Regions from separate parts of the Homo sapiens genome. Here region 2 is linked to region 1. Evidence: promoter capture Hi-C in human tissues and cell types (Jung and others, 2019). All regions are on one chromosome and are shown on one strand. The core of a region is centred on a gene start or on the middle of the fragment in contact, and the rest is flanking DNA. Distances in the headings are between cores, read along the strand shown.

What was found. The method cuts DNA at HindIII sites, captures the fragments that hold promoters and counts their contacts. A contact is called where the count stands out against the background at its distance.
Region 2: a contact is called between a fragment that was not itself captured here and the fragment with the promoter of PDPR in region 1, in 1 of the 25 tissues and cell types used here (mesendoderm cells).

The regions. Positions count from the first base shown.
Region 1 is chr16:70,111,122-70,116,424 of GRCh38, reverse strand. It overlaps PDPR (pyruvate dehydrogenase phosphatase regulatory subunit), which reads right to left and starts at 2,093. Exons shown (of 19, transcript NM_017990.5): 1 at 1,985-2,093; 2 at 1,495-1,604. RefSeq lists enhancers at 617-1,559, 2,080-2,129. The HindIII fragment of the contact is 8,445 bases long and covers 1-5,303 here.
Region 2 is chr16:69,783,395-69,788,697 of GRCh38, reverse strand. WWP2 (WW domain containing E3 ubiquitin protein ligase 2) reads right to left here. Exons shown (of 24, transcript NM_001270454.2): 2 at 1,618-1,702. The coding sequence starts at 1,687. Among named protein-coding and RNA genes, the nearest start is that of WWP2, 24 kb to the right of the region's middle. The HindIII fragment of the contact is 5,626 bases long and covers 355-5,303 here.

The sequences.
Region 1 (5,303 bases), core at 844-3,343:
CTGGGTGACACAGTGAGACTCTGTCTTAAACAAAACAAAACAAAGAAAGGCCAGGCGCAGGGGCTCACACCTGTAATCCTAGCACTTTGGGAGGCCAAGGTGGGTGGATTATTTGAGGTCAGGAGTTTGAGACCAGCCTGATCAGCATGGTGAAACCCCGTCTCTACTAAAAACAGAAAAATTAGCCAGGTGTCGTGGCTTGCACCTGTAGTCCCAGCTACTCAGGAGGCTGAGACAGGAAAATTGCTTCAACCAGGGAGATGGAGGCTGCAGTGGGCAGATTCGCGCCACTGCCTGGGTGACACAGTGAGACTCCATCTCAAAAAAGCCCAGGGTGCTTGGCGCCAAAAAAGGGATCTCTGACCTTGTGTTCATTATGACCTTCAAAAGAGTGAAGTGGTGAGGGCATGAGGGCAGAGGAAAAGAAGGGCTTAAGACAACGAAGGAAAAGAAGGCACCAGAGTCTAGTGCCTTTGCCGCCAAACCTAAACCTATAAGGTTGGCAGCAAAACCAAAGCACAAACTGATAACAAAGGAGGTAAAGCCAGGGGAGAAGAAACTGAAGACGTCAAAGACAGAAATGAAGCACATCATCTGGTTTAAAACAAATGATAGAGTTTTTACAGTTCTGGAAAATGACCGTATAATATTCTCTGCTAAGAAGAATAACTTCTGCTAAACAACCATAAGACTGCAGCTGGCTCTACTCAGATCTGCTTATTCCAACAAGACCAAGGTGCTAGTTCTAACTTCGAGTTGTCCCTCTGTATGGCTGCAGCGTTGCGCACAGTGGACTGCCGGTCACAAGGAAGACTGGATGAGCGTGGGTTCACACAACATTTCCCACACTTGCCTCAGCAAAAGAACCACCTGGGACACTTGTTTAAAAATGACAGATTCCCACGGTCCACCTCGGCAGATTCTGATCCTGCCACTCCAGGGAGCTGTATTTTTCAACAAGTACACCAGGTGATCACGCAAGTTTAAGAAATTAACACAAGTTGGCCGAGCGCAGTGGCTCACGCCTGTAATCCCAGCACTTTGGGAGGCTGAGGCGGGAGAATCACGAGGTCAGGAGTTCGAGACCAGCCTGGCCAACATAGTGAAACCCCGTCTCTACTAAAAACACAAAAATTAGCCGGGCGTGGTGGCGCACACCTGTATTCCCAGCTACTTGGGAGGCTGAGGCAGGAGAATTGCTTGAACCCAGGAGGCAGAGGTTGCAGTGAGCCGAGATCGCGCCACTGCACTCCCGCCTGGGCGACAGAGTGAAACTCTGTCTCGGAAAAAAGAAAAAAAAAGAAAAAAGAAATTAACACAAGTCCCTGCCACTGGAAAAGCTTATCCGTCAGGCTGGCTCCTCCTCCACCACCAGACCCCATCCCGGTACATCACGTTTACATGCATGCGGAAAATGGGCTTGGAGATTCTTGATTCAAATCCGAGGTATCACACATCGGCCCCCAAAGGTCAAACATTAAGAAGGAAGCTTACTGCCCTGTCCCAGATTTTTCTAGGTGACTTCTTCCTCCGGACTCTGCAGCAGTCTTTAGTTCTAAAAGCACAAGCGGACCGCACGTCTCAACGCGGGAAAACAGTTCCATCTGCAGGGATGGAGGACCGGGCTAGACAAGCTGGAGTTGGCTCTGCGCCGCAGGGGTGTGCAAGCCCGAGACGGGGGAGCCCGAGGTCACCCCGGCCGCCCTGGCATCGGGGCTGAAGTGCAGGCTCCTGGAGGAGCGGTGCGCACGCCCAGGGGTAGCCGAGAACACAAGCCAAGGCACGAGCGGACAACCTTACGGGGACGAGTACTGGCGCCCGGACGCGACTTCGCGAGAGGCCAGGCGGAACCCACTGGAAGCGTGAGCTAGCGGGGACCACCCCCGGGCGAAACCAAAGGAGAAAGAGGGGAACCCAGGGGTCCCGGGGCGCTTAGGCCCGCGCGGACGGGGAGGCCAGAGTTGCCCCGAAGCTATCTCCTTACCTCACCGGTCCCCACGGGCTCCGCGCTCAGCTACAGCCCGGCGGGAGCAATGCGGCAGCCACAACAGTTGCCTGGGGTCGCCGCGGGCCGGAAAGCGGGGTTCGGGGATGGGAAGGGGGCGGGGCGAAGCGAGCAAAAAGTTCCGGGGAAGCCGAGACCGCGACCTTCCGCGCTTTACGGCCCCCGGGCAAGGGTACTGCCGGCGCGTGACCTCAGCAGCGCACGAGCGCGCCGTGACGCCTTCGCGGAGCCCCGCCCCTGCCACGTGGGCTTGTTTGGGTCTCGCGAGGCACCGCCCCCGCGGCCTCTTTGCCACCCTCAGAGGCGAGCTGTGGAAGCCTTGACTCTTAGGGCCGTTTTAGAACCGGGGCCTCGGACCGGCGGGGTTTCTGCACGTGGAACCGGAACATCTGAGATGATCGCAGGCCCTGTGGAGTGTGGGGAGCGCGGGAGTTCTTTCTTCCCTCGAGGCCCGTGCCAGGGCTTACTCCAAAGCCAGTGGGTCCCCAGTCCTAAGCCAAGCAGTCCCGGGGGAAAACGCTTCTCATCGCCGTGGGAGCGCGGATCTTGGAAGTGGCTCTGGGCTTTCTTGGGCGAGGCTCTCACAGAGTAGATCGGAAATCCATTCTGCTGGCCCGCCCCACCTCGGAGGACGGACTAACGGACCTGAGTTCCCGGCCCTATCTTACTCTTCTCAGCTTCTCAGCTTGGCTCAGCTCAGAGGAAGAGGAATCACTGAAGTCTCAGAGAAGTCTCCACTCATCCCTTCCTCACTGTCACATCAGCCTTTTCTTTCCTTCTAGAACTCATCACTGACTCAAGGATATAAGTTTGATGACTGTCTTTTCCACTGGTGTGACACGATCTCTGTCGACAGAACCTTAGTCTTATGCATAGCTTTATTCTCAGCACCCAGAACAGTGCCTGGCACCTCTTCCACTGAATATTATATGCATAAGGGTCTCATGCTGCAGCCACCATTGCATCTTGGGCCACACTATCCAGTTCCCGTTTGTTGGATTCAATACTGTCTCACCACACAAACCAATCTTGTGTTTTATTAATTTAAAAAAAATTTTTTTTTTGTAGAGATAGGCTCACTATGTTGCCTAGGCTGGGCCTGAACTCCTGGCCTCAAGTGATCCTTCCATCTCAGCCTCCCAAAGTCCTGGGATTACAGGCGTGAGCCACTGTGCCTGCCCCAATCTTGTGTTTTATTGCTGGCCACCTGTAGCCAGGCACTGTGCAGGATGATGGGATCCAGCAATGTACAAGAAAGAGGCGGTTTCTGCTCTTAGGGAGTGGCAGTCAAGTTCCAGGGACCCCTCTGTCACAAGGCCAGGCCACAGCCTACATAGTTTATACCCCATTTACTGGCCAGTCAAATCACACAAAGACAGCCCAGATGAGGTCTGCCAGACAGTGGACTGAAACTATGCCATAGGCTCCTGTGCTAGATAAATACTTCCATATTTTAGCTAGGATTGAATGCTTGGGGACACCTACCTGTCTAAAAAAAGAGAAAACGGCTGACCAATTTGAGACATTCTCGGGGAAGGCTTTCCTGATGCCCAGATGTGGCGATTTCATGAAAAATATCACAGGTTTTCCTCATGAACCATTTGGTTCAAGCCATTTCCAGGCACATGAATTTGGGAGAAACCTGGTTGTCTGCAGGAGATGGTGGATGAAATCAAGTGAAATACTTAATGTGTTGATTTCATTCTGTTTACGTGCAGTAAATAGCAAACAAATGGTGTAGATCTGTCCCTGATTTCCTTCTCCATCACCATGATCGGCCTCCACTCCAAAATGCTAAGTCAGGCTGGGTGCGGTGGCTCATGCCTGTAATGCCAGCACTTTGGGAGGCCAAGGCAGTTGGATCACGTGAGGTCAGAAGTTCGAGACCAGCCTGATCAATATGGTGAAACCCCATCTCTACTAAAAAATACAAAAATTAGCTGGGCGTGGTGGCACATGCCTGTAATCCCAGCTACTTTGGGAGGCTGGGACAGGAGAATTGCTTAAACCCAGGAGGCGGAGGTTGCAGTGAGCCAAGATTGTGTCACTGCACTCTAGCCTAGGCGACAGAGCGAGACTGTCTCAAAAAAAAAAAAAAAAGGGAAGTAAGTCCTAAGGCCCCTTTCATTGTCAAAGATGGGTCTTGTCCTTAGTAGGTTCTCATAACCACTGATGCACTATTTTTTCTAGGGGATTGAGTGTTTTTATTTTATTATTATTTTTTAGATGGAGGCTCACTCTGTTGCCCAGGCTGGAGTGCAATGGTGTGGTCTCGGTTCACTGCAACCTCTGCCTCCCAGGTTCAGGGGATTCTCCTACCTCAGCCTCCCCAGTAGCTGGGACTGTACAGGCGTGCGCCACCACGCTGGGCTAATTTTTGTATTTTTATTAGAGACAGGGTTTCGCTATGTTGGCCAGGCTGGTCTCAAACTCCTGACCTCGTGATCTGCCCACCTAGGCCTCCCAAAGTGCTGGAATTACAGGCGTGAGCCACCGCGTCCAGCCTATTTTTATTTTTTGAGATTAGCTCTCACCCTGTCACCCAGGCTGGAGCACAGTGGTGCAATCACGGCTCACTGCAGTCTTAACTTCCTGGGCTCTAGCGATTCTCCCACCTCAGCCTCCCGAATAGCTGAGACCTCAGGCGCGTGCCACCGTCCCCAGCTAACTTTTGTATTTTTTGGTAGAGGTGGGGTTTCACTATGTTGCTGAGGCTGGCATTAAACTCCTGACCTCAAGAGATCCACCTGCCTTGGCCTCCCAATGTGCTGGGATTAGAGGCATGAGCCACCATGTCTTGCCCTAAACAGACGTTTTAATTACGCTTGTCAAGTCCTCTTGTGAAATCTTCATCTGCAGTGACTTGGTAAATGTATTTGCTACCACACAGGATAAACAGTGTACAGACAAACATTTGACATACCTATGTTACCACAGTGTAAGAATGAATTTGGATCTGAGGTCGCTAAGATGCAGGCGTTTATCTTACCTCCCTGCAGCACCGGCATGGCTGTGGGGAAGGCCTCCCTCCTCCCTCTGAAGTTCTTGTCCCCATCAGTAGACTGGACATCTGCCTACAACCGACTTCACAGAAAGGACCTGACACCTGGCATGCTTCTCGTGTGCTTGAGAGCCTGTGTTTGTGTGGAAAGCAGGGATGTTCTCATTCACACCATGGGAAGAGAAGAATGTTGCGAGTAGCAATCAGTACTCTTTTTTTTTTTTTTTTTTTTTTTTTTTTTGTGAGACGGAGTCTTGCTTTGTCACCCAGGCTGGAGTACAGTGGCGCGATCTCAGC
Region 2 (5,303 bases), core at 1,918-4,417, 330 kb after region 1:
CAAGGGCTGATAAGAAAAATATAAAGAAGAGAGGGAAATAGATGTGATGAAGTCAATGAGAAAGGTGGCGTTGGATCAGGGGATCAGGAAGAGGGTGGCTTTTGAGAAAACGCCTAAGGAAATAATGAAGCGAAAAGCATTTCACTCAGAGGGAACAGCAAGTGCAAAGGCCCAGAGGCAGACGCCTGCCCAGTGTATTCACTGAAGAGCAAGGAGGCTGGGGCACAGAGAATGTAGACCAGGAACAGGAGATGAGAAATGTGGGGTGGGGAAGGGTCACATCACATGGGAGCTTCGGCTTCTACTGTGAAATGGAGCACCCTTGAATGGTTTGAGCAGAGGAGTGACAAGACCCAGCTTACATTTTTTTTTCTGAGACATGGTCTCGCTCTGCTCTGTTGCCTGGGCTGGAGTGCAGTGGCACAATCACAGCTTACTGCAGCCTCGAACTCCTAGGCTCAAGTGATCCTCCTGTCTCAGCCTCTGATTTTTTTTTTTTAGAGACGGGGGTCTTGCTCTGTTGCTCAGGCTGGTCTCAAACTCCTGGGCTCAGGTGATCCTCCTGCCTTGGCCTCCCAAAGTGCTGATATTACAGGCATGAGTCACCACACCTGGCCCCAGTTTACCTTTTAACAAGATCACTGGCTGCTGTGTGACCAACAGACTGAAGGAGGGCAAAGTGCAGAAGCCGAGAGACAGGACAGGAGGCTACTGCCTTAACTCAGGGTGGAGACAATGGTGGCCTGGACTAGGCTGGGACCTAGGGGTGGTGAGAAGTGGCTGAATGTTGAGTGACACATTTTGAAGATCGAGTCAACCAGATACGCTGATGGGTTGATACAGACAATGAGGAAGAAAAACCAGGACCTCAGCTATAGACAGGCTAAATTTTAGATGTTTACTAAATATTCAAGTGAAGGTAACAAACTGGCTACTGGTTATAAATCAGGAGTTCAGAGGTAAAGCCCAGAGGAGTGATCTTCTATTGGTGGCATTTAAAGCCAGAGGTTGGAAGAAGCACCTAGGGAGCGAGTGCAGGTAGCAACGAGCCCTAGGGCATGAACAGGTCACCATTTTATTTTATTCAGTTTTTATTTTAATTTGTTTTTGGGACAGGGTCTCACCCTGTTGCCCAGGCTGAGTGCAGTGGTGTGATCACAGCTCACTGCAGCCTTGAACTCCCAGGCTCAAGCGATCCTCCCACTTCAGTGTCCTTAGTAGCTGGGACCAGCTAGCATGCACCACTATGCCTGGCTAATTATTTTATGTTCTGTAGAGACAGGGCTTCCCTATGTTTCCCAGGCTGGTCTTGAAACTCTGGGCTTAAGGGATCCTCCTGCCTCAGCCTCCCAAAGTGCTGAATTACAGGCGTGAGCCACTGCACCTGGCCTGAAATCACCATTTTAGACAATTTTAGCTAAAAGTTCCCTATTTTCCTGCTCCTTTATTTTCTTTCTTCTTCAAGAATTACAGCTACAAGATGACAATCCCATGAGAATAAATAATTAACACATGTAAACTATTTCACAAAATTTGGCTCCCCAGACCAAGGTGTGGTTAGATTCTCCCTCTTCCCTGGGCGTAGACAAGATGAAGACATTATACAGTGCCACTCACCTTTCAAAGTGAGCTGAGACTTCTCAAAAGGCAGGGCCACTCCTGCCCGGCTAGAGCTGGCAGATGCCATATCATCACCGTGAAGCTGTAAGACAAACAGAAAAAAGAATTCAGAGAATATCTGATAAGAAGACAGAGGAGTTTAACTCAATTTCAATATTTAAGCTTAAAGAAACAGGCAAGAAAATAGAAACGTCCAAGCAACTGCAACCAGGGTATAGTTTGTCTTATAATGACTTAATGAACCTGGACAGGTCTTAGGATAGACTAGAAAGGACACAGGACTGTTATAGCAAAGTCTAGAGGAGGCAGAGTCTACTAAGACACCTCTGCCAGGCATGGTCGCTCACGTCTGTAATTCCAGCACTTTGGGAGGCCGAGATGGCCAGATCACCTGAGGTCAGGAGTTTGAGACCAGCCTGACCAACATGGCAAAACCCCGTCTCTACTAAAAAATACAAAATTATCCAGGCATGGTGCTGCATGCCTGTAATCCCAGCAACTCTGGAGGCTGAGGCAGGAGAATCACTTGAGCCCAGGAGGCGGAGGTTGCAGTGAGCCAAGATCGGCCATTGCACTGCAGCCTGGGTGACAAGAGCGAAACTCCATCTCAAAAAAAAAAAAAAAAAAAAAAAAAAGATTGGCTGGGCGCAGTGGCTCATGCCTGTAATCCCCAGCACTTTGGGAGGCGGGTGGATTACAGGGTTGGGAGTTCAACACCAGTCTGGCCAAGATGATGAAATCCCATCTCTACTAAAAATACAAAAAAATTAGCCAAGCATAGTGGTGGGTGCCTGTAATCCCAGCTACTCAGGAGGGTGAGGCAGAGAATTGCTTGAACCCGGGAGGTGGAGGGTGCAGTGAGCCGAGATCGTGCCACTGCACTCCAGCCTGGGCAACAGAGCAAGATTCTGTCTCAAAAAAAGAAGAAAAAAAAAAAAAAGACATCTCCAAAAAGAACATCACAGATTCACAGCAGAAAGACAGCTAATCTAGTGTGCTAGCTGTAGAGCAAGTTTGCTGCAAACACCTCAAGGAGGGTCTCTGGCCAAATGAGTAGAATCTGACAGTAATCCTTGCTAAAAGTATAATGCAAGAAAAAAAAAAAGGAAAGAGAAAAAGAAGACAACTAATACAATTATTTAAATGGGTAGGCTGGGTGCAGTGGCTCATGGTCTGTAATCCCAGCACTTTGGGAGGCCAAGACAGGTAGATCATCTGAGGTCAGGAGTTCAAGACCAGCCTGGCCATAATGATGAAACCCCATCTATACTAAAAAACAACAAATTTGTCGGGCGTGGTAGTGGGTGCCTGTAATCCCAGCTACTCGGGAGGCTGAGGCAGGAGAATCGCTTGAACTCGGGAAGTGGAGGTTGCAGTGGGCCGAGACTGTGCCATGGCACTCCAGCCTGGGTGACAGAGCAAGACTCTGTCTCGAAAAAAAAAAAAAAAAGATGTGCAGCATCATTCGCCATGAGGTGTCCCTGTCATTCCGTCTTGGCTAGAAGCAAGTCTATCTTGTACTTTGAATGGATCTTTTACTTGTATGTGATTTTGGAATATCATCATTTGACATTTGAAAAATATTGGTTCATTGAGTTCTGCAGATTTTCCAAATGTTGACACATTTCATTATGCAATATCCAAAAATCACATTTGTGAATGTCACCACTGATCTCATCAGACAAGTCTTTAAGCATTGGGAAGCCATTGAGCTCTTGGTAGTAGATAAAAGCATTCCAAAAGTCTAACTTTCCCTTAAAACCTTTCACTTAAAAACTCATATCCGCTCCCCTTCCTCCCTCCTTCCATCATCTCTACTACCTTGTCTTTTGTCTTTTTTTTTTTTTTGAGACAGTCTCACACACCTAAGCTGGAGTGGTACAGTAGCACAATCTCGGCTCACTGCAGCCTCCACCTCCCAAGTTGAAGTGATTCTCGTGCCTCAGCCTCATGGGTAGCTGGAATTAGAGGCACCAGCACCACCTGGCTAATTTTTGTATTTTTAGTAGAGATGGGGTTTCGCCATGTTGGCCAAGCTGGTCTCGAACTCCTAACCTCAAGTGATCCGCCTGCCTCAACCTCCCAAAGTGCTGGGATTACAGGTGTGAACCACTGCACTCGACCACTCTTTCTTTTCTTTAAAAAAAAAAAAAACTCATATTTTATCATTGGTAACAAATACTGTGTTGTTTTCCTTGAAGTGTCGGGCTCACTTCATTCGTTTTCAAGAAAAGGCTTGCCAAATACCCAAATCTAGTAACACATTTGTCTGTTAGATGTTTAAGTAAAAATGGTACTTCACCCAAAAAGCAATTAATTCAGCTCTCAATTCAAACAACCGTGCTTTTTCCCAACACACCATTATACTTCAACAGGCGGCAGAAGAGCTTTTGGAGTACTGCCCATTTCAGCACACAGAATATTAAAAACACGTGCTCAGGAGTCAAGACTTCATAAAATTAATGAATTTTACCACTTCATCAAGGACATTCTCAGGCGAACCTGGCTTTTTCTTTTCTTTATACTGAGAGTATGTGTGGTGAAGGATACCATGACCACAGCAACAGCCCAATTGGTGCTAGCACCAACTGCTTTACTCACCTTTGCTTCTGGAACATTGGTGTGAATGGGATCACAGTGAAAAGGCAAAGTGTTAATGTCATTATGAAAATAATTTCGGCCAGGCACAGTGGCTCACGCCTGTATTCCCAGCGCTCTGGGAGGCCAAGGCGGGTGGATCACCTGAGGTCAGGAGTTCGAGACCAGCCTGACCAACATGGTGAAACCTCGTCTCTACTAAAAATACAAAAATTAACCGGGCATGGTGGTGGGCGCCTCTAATCTCAGCTACTTGGGAGGCTGAGGCAGGAGAATTGCTGGAACCTAGGAGTCAGAGGTTGCAGTGCGCCGAGATCATGCCACTGCACTCCAGCCCGGGCGATGACAGCAAGACTCCGTCTCAAAAAAAAAAAAAAAAAAAAAAAAAGAAAGAAAGAAAGAAAAAGAAAAGAGTTTTAACCTTGCAAAACCCTAAAAGAGTCTGGGAGACCTCCCAATGTCTGAGGACCACACTTGAGAACTGATGCTGTTAAATTCTTGTGCCTTTGTATCTTATGTTTTTTAGAGATGGTATCTCACTCTGTCGCCCATGCCGGGAGTGCAGTGGCATGAACATGCTCAGTGCAGCCTTGAACTCCTAGACTCGAGCAATCCTCTCACCTTGGCCTCCTGAGTAGCTGGGACTATAGATGTGCCACCACAACTCTAATATTTTGTTGTTGTTGTTGTTGTTGTTGTAGAAACAAGGTCTCACTACGTTGCCCAGACTAGTCTCAAACTCCTGGCTTCAAGCTATTCTTCTGCCGCAGCCTCCCAAAGTGCTGGGACTACAAGCATGAGCCACCAAGCCTGGCCAAAATTCCTGTTCTATTCAACATCATTAATACCTTCTGTCATTCTATTTGTATGTGACCTCTCTCCCTGCCTTCCCATTTTCTTTTTTTTCTTCAATATTATTATTATTACTATTTAGACACAGGGTCTGGCTGTATTGCCCAGGCTAGAGTACAGTGGCTACTCACAGGCATAATCATGGCTCACGGCAGCCTCGAACTTCTGCACTCAAAGTATCTCCCTGCCTCAGCCTCCTGAGTAGCTGGAAATACAGGATCGGACCACCAAGC